Regions from separate parts of the Homo sapiens genome. Here region 2 is linked to region 1. Evidence: promoter capture Hi-C in 16 types of primary human blood cells and fetal thymus (Javierre and others, 2016). All regions are on one chromosome and are shown on one strand. The core of a region is centred on a gene start or on the middle of the fragment in contact, and the rest is flanking DNA. Distances in the headings are between cores, read along the strand shown.

The links. Contacts are between HindIII fragments. The CHiCAGO score rates a contact against its expected background, and 5 or more counts as called.
Region 2: a contact is called between a fragment that was not itself captured here and the fragment with the promoter of LPCAT1 in region 1, in 1 of 17 cell types (neutrophils). The highest score is 5.9, in neutrophils.

The regions. Positions count from the first base shown.
Region 1 is chr5:1,521,864-1,525,264 of GRCh38, reverse strand. It overlaps LPCAT1 (lysophosphatidylcholine acyltransferase 1), which reads left to right and starts at 1,305. Exons shown (of 14, transcript NM_024830.5): 1 at 1,305-1,555. The coding sequence starts at 1,421. RefSeq lists a cis regulatory region at 1-148, silencers at 918-1,317, 1,338-1,647, 1,918-2,117 and an enhancer at 3,278-3,401. The HindIII fragment of the contact is 5,602 bases long and covers 1-3,401 here.
Region 2 is chr5:443,803-447,368 of GRCh38, reverse strand. EXOC3 (exocyst complex component 3) reads right to left here. Exons shown (of 13, transcript NM_007277.5): 2 at 1,020-1,219. The coding sequence starts at 1,163. It overlaps LOC124900930 (a long non-coding RNA gene), which reads right to left and starts at 548. Exons shown (of 2, transcript XR_007058671.1): 1 at 161-548; 2 at 1-30. RefSeq lists enhancers at 268-347, 3,529-3,566. The HindIII fragment of the contact is 2,637 bases long and covers 813-3,449 here.

The DNA of each region.
Region 1 (3,401 bases), core at 56-2,555:
GGGACAGGTGCTGCTGCTAGGCATGGGCTGGGACTCTTATGGGGCAGGAATATGGGCTGGGACTCTTATGGGGCAGGAATAAGGCCATGCAGCGGGTCTGGCCTGCCGGGGCCTTCTCTGTGCATGATATGTGGATGGCACAGACCCCTGGCCCTCACCCCGGTCTCAGACACAGAAGGGTCTCTGCCAGCCCGCTGCACTATGAGGTCCACAAGGGCGCAGGCAGGGTCATTGGAGGGGTCGGGGCACTCCCTGGCGTCTGCTGAGGATGGGGCCCAGCTGGGGCCAACACAGCAGTGACATCCCCAGGAGCCAGGACCCTGGGGGGTTGGCCAGGTGGCCCAAACCGGCTCTGTCTGGGTGAGGTCCGTTGGCCATGAAGGAACCAACAGGGCCAGCCGGGGTGAGGAAGCCGTGAGCACTGTGACCGAAGGCCTGCGTGAGTTCTGAAATCCAAGCGTGTTCACCCGGAGGCAGGAGCCCATCCTACTCTCGCTCCGGCTAATTATGGGCCCCACCCTGGGGCTCCTCACACGGCTCCTGAGCACCACAAGGGCAATGCCCGAGCCAAAGCAGCTACGGGTGAGAAAGCGCTGGGATCTCATCGCAGCCCCTGCACAACCAGCACGGACAGTCAGGGCCCCTATGTGCGCCTCCTGCCTGGGCCATCCCTGCGGGGCCTGAGGCCTGAGAGGTCCTGAGATCGGAGGGGTCCTGAGGTCTGAGGGGGTCCTGAGGCTTGAGGGGTCCTGAGATCTGAGGGGATCCCGAGGTCTGGGGGGTCCTAAGGTCGAGTGGACCTCAGGCGGGAGTCGCCTGGGCTGAGGCGCGGCTGGAAGAAGCTCCCTCAGCCCGGGGCAGCTTCCAGGGTCGCCGGTGCGAGCTAGGAGCCCAACGAATAAGAAGAATGGCGTGGGGCCTTCGCCGGAACAGCCCGGGGCTCGGCACCCAGGGCCTGGCCCGCCTTGCGCGTAAGCTGGACGCGTGCCCGCCCCTTCCTCCCTCCCCGCGAGCAGGCGGGCCGAGCGGCGGAAGGGGACGACGTGGCAGCCTCGCGGGCCCGGGGGACCTCCCTTTCTCCTGGCGCAGACCCTGCCGGGGATCCCTGTGCTCCAGTGGCTGCAGGAGGCGCCCCCGGTCCCCAGCGGCCCCGGCCCCCCACAGACCCCAGAGAAACCACCAGGTAGCGGAACTCCGGCTGGTGCCGCCCCTGCCGGCCGGCGGGAGGCGAGGCTTCCAGGGACGCCCCGCCCCGGCCGGCGCTCCCGCTCCGCCCACGTCACCTCCCGCGCCTGCGCGCCCGGCCCGCTCCAGCCGCCGCGCATCCTCGGCCCGCGCCCCGAGACCCGCGCCCAGCTAGCCCCGGCCCCGCTCGGCGCCCCAGGCAGCTCGGCTGCGCTCGCCGCGGGACGGCGCGGCCATGAGGCTGCGGGGATGCGGACCCCGGGCCGCCCCTGCCTCCAGCGCAGGGGCCAGCGACGCTCGGCTGCTGGCGCCCCCGGGGCGGAACCCCTTCGTGCACGAGCTGCGCCTCAGCGCCCTGCAGAAGGCCCAGGTGGGTGCCCAGGGCGCGCGGCCCCGGGAGCCGGCGCGGACGCCAGGGATGCTGGGGCCAGGGAGGCGCGGCCGAGGAGGGGCCGGGGAGGGGGCCTGGGGCGCGGCGCGGCCCTGCGAGCCGCGGCGCCTTCCCTCCCCGCGGCCGCCCCTCAGTTCGCGTCCCCGCCGCCCGCACCCGATGCCTCGGTCTCGGCGCCGGCTTCCCGCCGCCCGCACGCGCATCCTGGTCCCTCAGCGCCTTCCTCGGGGTCCCCGCTTCCCATCCCCGCCCCGCGTTCTGCTCCTCCCCCCAGACCCCTGCACCCTGAACCGGGCCCACAACCCTTTCTCTGCCTCCCAGAGCCCCGACCTCGGCTCCCGCGGGAGGCTGGACCCGCATCGCCGGTCCCCGCGCTCGTCCCTGGTCCGGGCCCCGCCCGCCTTGGCAGGCCCTGCGCGCAGCCCGGGGACTCCGGAGCGGCTTTGCCTGGACGCGGCCCGCGGGCGGGAGGGCACCGCGGCTCTGGGTGAGCCTCGTGTGCGGGGCCTGGTGGTGCCCGGGACAGGGCGCGCGGGCGGTGCGGGTCCCCTGTAGGGTCCCCTGTAGGCGCACGGGTCTCCCTGCTCTGCGGCCGCACGTTGCCTTCTGGGGTGCATGCTTCGCTCCTGTTGTAAGGGATGCTTTCTCGGGGCTGGTCTGACCCGAATCAACTTTATGCAACCTGGGCTGCCACGTGGGAGGGAACGGTTTGCTGAGATCCTGCGATGGGACAGTGGTGAGGGGAGACCCGGGGGCGTCGTGGGGAGGGGGCCGCTCGCTGCAGGAAGCTGCACCGGGGATGTGCTGGCTCAGCCTGGCTTTTCCGGCTACCTGGCTGCCAGCTGGGCTTACAGTTACCTGAGATCCACTCTCAAGAGGACCTTACTTTTGACTCTAGAATAATTCCTAGAAGCAAGCACTGTTTCGGGGCCTATGGGGCTGTCCGGTTTGTAGGGAGCACGCTTCCAATTGTGAGAATAGATTTCCGGGAAGATGGAGATTTGTTAATGCATAAAGTACTTTATCTGAAAGAACCCTGAAGTGAAAAGTTCTTGAGGCCAGTTTGAGCTTGTCATTTTCCCAGGACGCCTGCTTTTGCTCAAAGCCCCTTGATGCGGCTGGTCCTCAGGGTATGGAAGGGGACGGGGAGCAGGAGAGCCCGATGGTGCCGCCCCTCCTGGTGACACACAGGGTGAGGTCGTCCCCAGCCTGGCTCCCAGGCCCTGGCCCCCGTCTCCCTGTGTGTCGGGAGCTGGACTCTGGGGCTGGGGCGGTGCCGGCCCCTCTGCCGCCGCTCTGCCTGGCCCTCTGTCTGCCACACGCTGTCAGCTGCCGTGTGCTGTGCCCCTCAAAGGAGGACTTGGGACACGGTCGCTCATTCTGTGCCCCTCAACCATTCCTCCTCTTCAATCCTCACCCCCACCCAGCCACCAGGCTCTCTCCCTGGTCACTCTCCCTGAGTCACTCCCAGCAGGCTTTCTTCCTCCTGCACTCTGCTGCTCGGAAGCCCTCAGCGGGGACGCCCCCGGATGAAATTCGAACCCCTGCTGTGGTTTCCAGGGCTTCCCCAGCCCTGCTCCTGCCCCAGCTATGGCTGCCTCAGGCATGCTCTCTCTTCCTGCCTTTCCTACTCCCTCCTGGCTCCCTGGGGGGAAACATCAAGCCCCTCCCTGGAGGTCCCCGGAGGCCACTTCGTCATCCCTGTCATAGTTGCAGCCCCCGGTTGAGGTGTGTTCTGTCCAAAAGTGTGCACCCACTGCCCTGGCGAGAAGCAGGGCAGAGACTCTCATGGGTAGGTACAGATGTCAGGGCACTGCCAGAGTGC
Region 2 (3,566 bases), core at 882-3,381, 1.1 Mb after region 1:
TTCACAGTGTACCTTTTTCTTCATTGCTGCCTGGGAACAGAACAATGATGCATTTTAAAGCCTTGATGAGAAAAGGTCAGGACACTCCTCATCTAGCCTCACACCTGGTGATCCTGGACACTACCACGGGTCTGCCCTGGGCCGTGGCCTGCTACGGTACCTTCAGAAGGATGTCACCCATGCTCTCCCAGGCATCCTAGGTTCCTAAAAGGTCTTGTCTAGGCAGAGAGAACGGTCAGGACTTCACTGGCTTGGGGTGGGGGAGTTCCTGCTGTTCAGCCAGCACCACACTTGGCCCCAGGACGGCTGACCCACAGGACAGAATCGGCACCTGAGCTTCAGATCCGCTCTCTGTCAAATGTGAGTTAAAACAATCTGAACAAAATGCCCTCTAGTGGTGCTCTGTAGAAGAGCTTTAAATAAGACTACTTCTCCTTCCTCCAGTATTGTTTAAAAACTTAATAGACACTTTCAGGGTGTTGTTTTTGTTTCTGTGTTTTTTTTTTCTTTTTGAGACAGAGTCTCACTCTGTTGCCCAGGCTGGAATGCAATGGCACCATCTCGGCTCACCGCAACCTCTGCCTCCTGGGTTCAAGCGATTCTCTTGCCTCAGCCTCCCAAGTAGCTGGGATTACAGGCGTCAACCATCATGCCTGGCTAATTTTTGTATTTTCATAGAGACAGGGTTTCACCATGTTGACCAGGCTGGTCTTGAACTCCTGACCTCAGGTGATCCGCCTGCCTCGGCCTCCCCGAGGTGCTGGGATTACAGGCATGAGTCACCGCACCCGGCCTCAGGGTGTTTAAAAGCTTGTTCCTTTGGTGTTTTCACCATTCCCACTGTCTTCTAAGCAAAGCTACTGAGTGGTAATACACTGCTGAAAGTAACTGCTCAAGAAAGTCCAGCTCTGCCTCCTTGCACATTACCATAAAGGCTAGTTTAGCAAAATCATCATGGTGATGTCAAGCAAGAACCTGAAGCCCAAGACAGATCCTGGGAGTGGGGCAGGTGGCCTCACCTTCAATCTGGCCTCCACGGAGGCCTTCTTCCGCGCTTCTCTCCTGCGATACTGCTCCACCTTGTCCAGCTGGTCCGGGCGCTGGAGCATCCCAGCAACCCTTTGCACTGCTGTCGCAACGGCCTCCCGGTCTGTCTCCTTCATGGTGAAAAAGCTGGTGGAATCCTCACACTGTTCATGCTAGGGGTGTTCTCTGTGCACTGCAGGAGTTGTTAGGACGGTAGAAATGTTAGGTACAAAACCTCCCCCAAACTATCAGGTGATCACAGTGGAGCTACAAGCAGAGCCTCTGAGATCATTAATCCAGGAAACCTCAAAGAAAGCTGAACTAGGATGAGGAACTCCTTGATAAGATAAACAAACCTTCGTAACACAAACATGCAGAAGTTATACCTTTAAGGGGAGAGCAGGGGCGTTTCACAGGCATGAGAGACATGGACATTGCGAAGATTCTAGATGTGGGTCCCAGACCACCCAGCATGTAGATGTCAGCCTCAAAGGCACATCTCTCCCCAAGACAGGGCTGGTTTCTCATTTCGGGAGCTTTCCCCCAGCACCTTGGCCAGGCCTGTGGGCAGCTGCACCAGGACCCTCAGTGAAGACAAATACAGCGTGGACAACTCCCCCGACCAGGTACCACAGCTGGAGGCCCAGCACAAGCCCCACAATTCCCACCCTATAAAAGTGACAATAGTCAGCCAGGCCCGGTGGCTCACGCCTGTAATCCCAGCACTTTGGCAGGCCGAGGCGGGTGGATCACGAGGTCAGGAGATCGAGACCATCCTGGCTAACATGGTGAAACCCTGTATCTACTAAAAATACACACAAAAAAATTAGCTGGGCATGTTGGTGGGTGCCTGTAGTCCCAGCTACTCGGGAGGCTGAGGCAGGAGACTGGCGTGAACCCCGGAGGCGGAGCTTGCAGTCAGCCGAGATCGCGCCACTGCACTCCAGCCTGGGCGACAGAGCGAGACTCCGTCTCAAAAAAAAAAAAAAGAAAAAAAAAGAAAAAGTCATTATTGTCTTGGGTATCCAAAACCCCATTTCCCCCTTTTTTAACTGTCCTAGAAAACATCATGCTTCCCTCCTTTATGCAGGCCCCGTGCAGACCACAGGTGCTCAGATGCCAGGCAAGCCTGCCTTCCATGCTCCCTCCACCATCGTCCTCCTCGGGGAGCTAACACAGCTGCTTGGTGAGCATCAGTCAATGAGGGAATCCGATACACCTGTTCCCCTTGACTTCAGCTGTCTGATTTTCATCTTCATGAATATTAAAAAGATTCACCTTCTCCTGGAATTTTTCATTCTCCATGCCCACATGCTTTCAGACACCTCTCTTCTCCTTTTTCATCTGGACCTACATTGCAACCTTTCCTTTCTCTTTATTTTCTGATTATGAAATTTGGCATACCAACGTAGAAAATCTGGACAGGACAAAAATACAAAGATGCCAGAGGCAACTCCCCTTAAATCCCATCATCTATGGGCAACTCCTCTTAAATCTTGCTACCCAGGGGCAACTTCCCTTAAATCTCACAATCCAGGGACAACTTCCCGTAAATCCCACCACTCAGGGGTAACCCCCGCTATATCCCACCACTCAGGGGCAACTCCCCTTAAATCCCGCCACCCAGGGACAACTCCCCTTAAATCCCGACACTCAGGGGCAACTCCCTCCAACAGGGCTTGTTTCCTTCCAGTTTTTTCCCTTTGAGTTTCTTTTAAAGCTAAGATTCCACTGCTTATATGACTTTGTAGGTGCACACTTTTGTTTTCTTATTTTGTTTGGACATTATCATCAGCATTTCCATTGACATTAAAGCCTGTATGATTTTGATTATAGGGCTGGATAATAACCCAAGAAGTGGACCCCCAGCCGCTCTGCTGGGGCACGCGGTGAGGTGGCTGCGCCCATCTTAAGGCTGGAGTGAAGTCTGTCACGCTGTGGGTGGAAGCCAAGGCAATGTGAGTGGAGAGCTGTGAAGCAGGGCTCGCCTTGGAGTCAGAATAAAGCTACTCATGTGGAAAAGGGGAAAATCTGGAGTTAAAAAACGCACCGCAGAGGCTTCCATCCCAGCCTGAAGACTAAAGATTTTGGGTCACAGAAGCCAAAGAGGAACTCAGAGACCATAAACAGAGACCCAGGTCCAGCCCCTACCAGGGCCTTTCTGACTGCCTTCCCCTGGCGCTGGCTCCGCTGTGAGCCTCTCCGCCGAGCGGGGGGACACCCTACTGCGGGGAACATCAGCACCCACGGAGACACCTGCGCCAGGGAGACACCTCTGCCGGGCAGACACCTCTGCCAGGAGGGACCCTTTACCGGGGGGACGCCTGCGCCGAGGGGAACACCTGTGCTGGGAGGCACCTCACGGAGGGGACACTCCGCTGGAGGACACCTGCACCTTGGAGGACACCTGCACCTTGAAAGCTTCCTAAAGGCCAGGAAGGACGCTTGTGCCCAGAAGGACACCTGCTCCGACGAGGGACACCTGGTCCGAGGGGGGACACCTGTGCCAGGAAGGACAACTGCGCCTGGGGGGGGACACC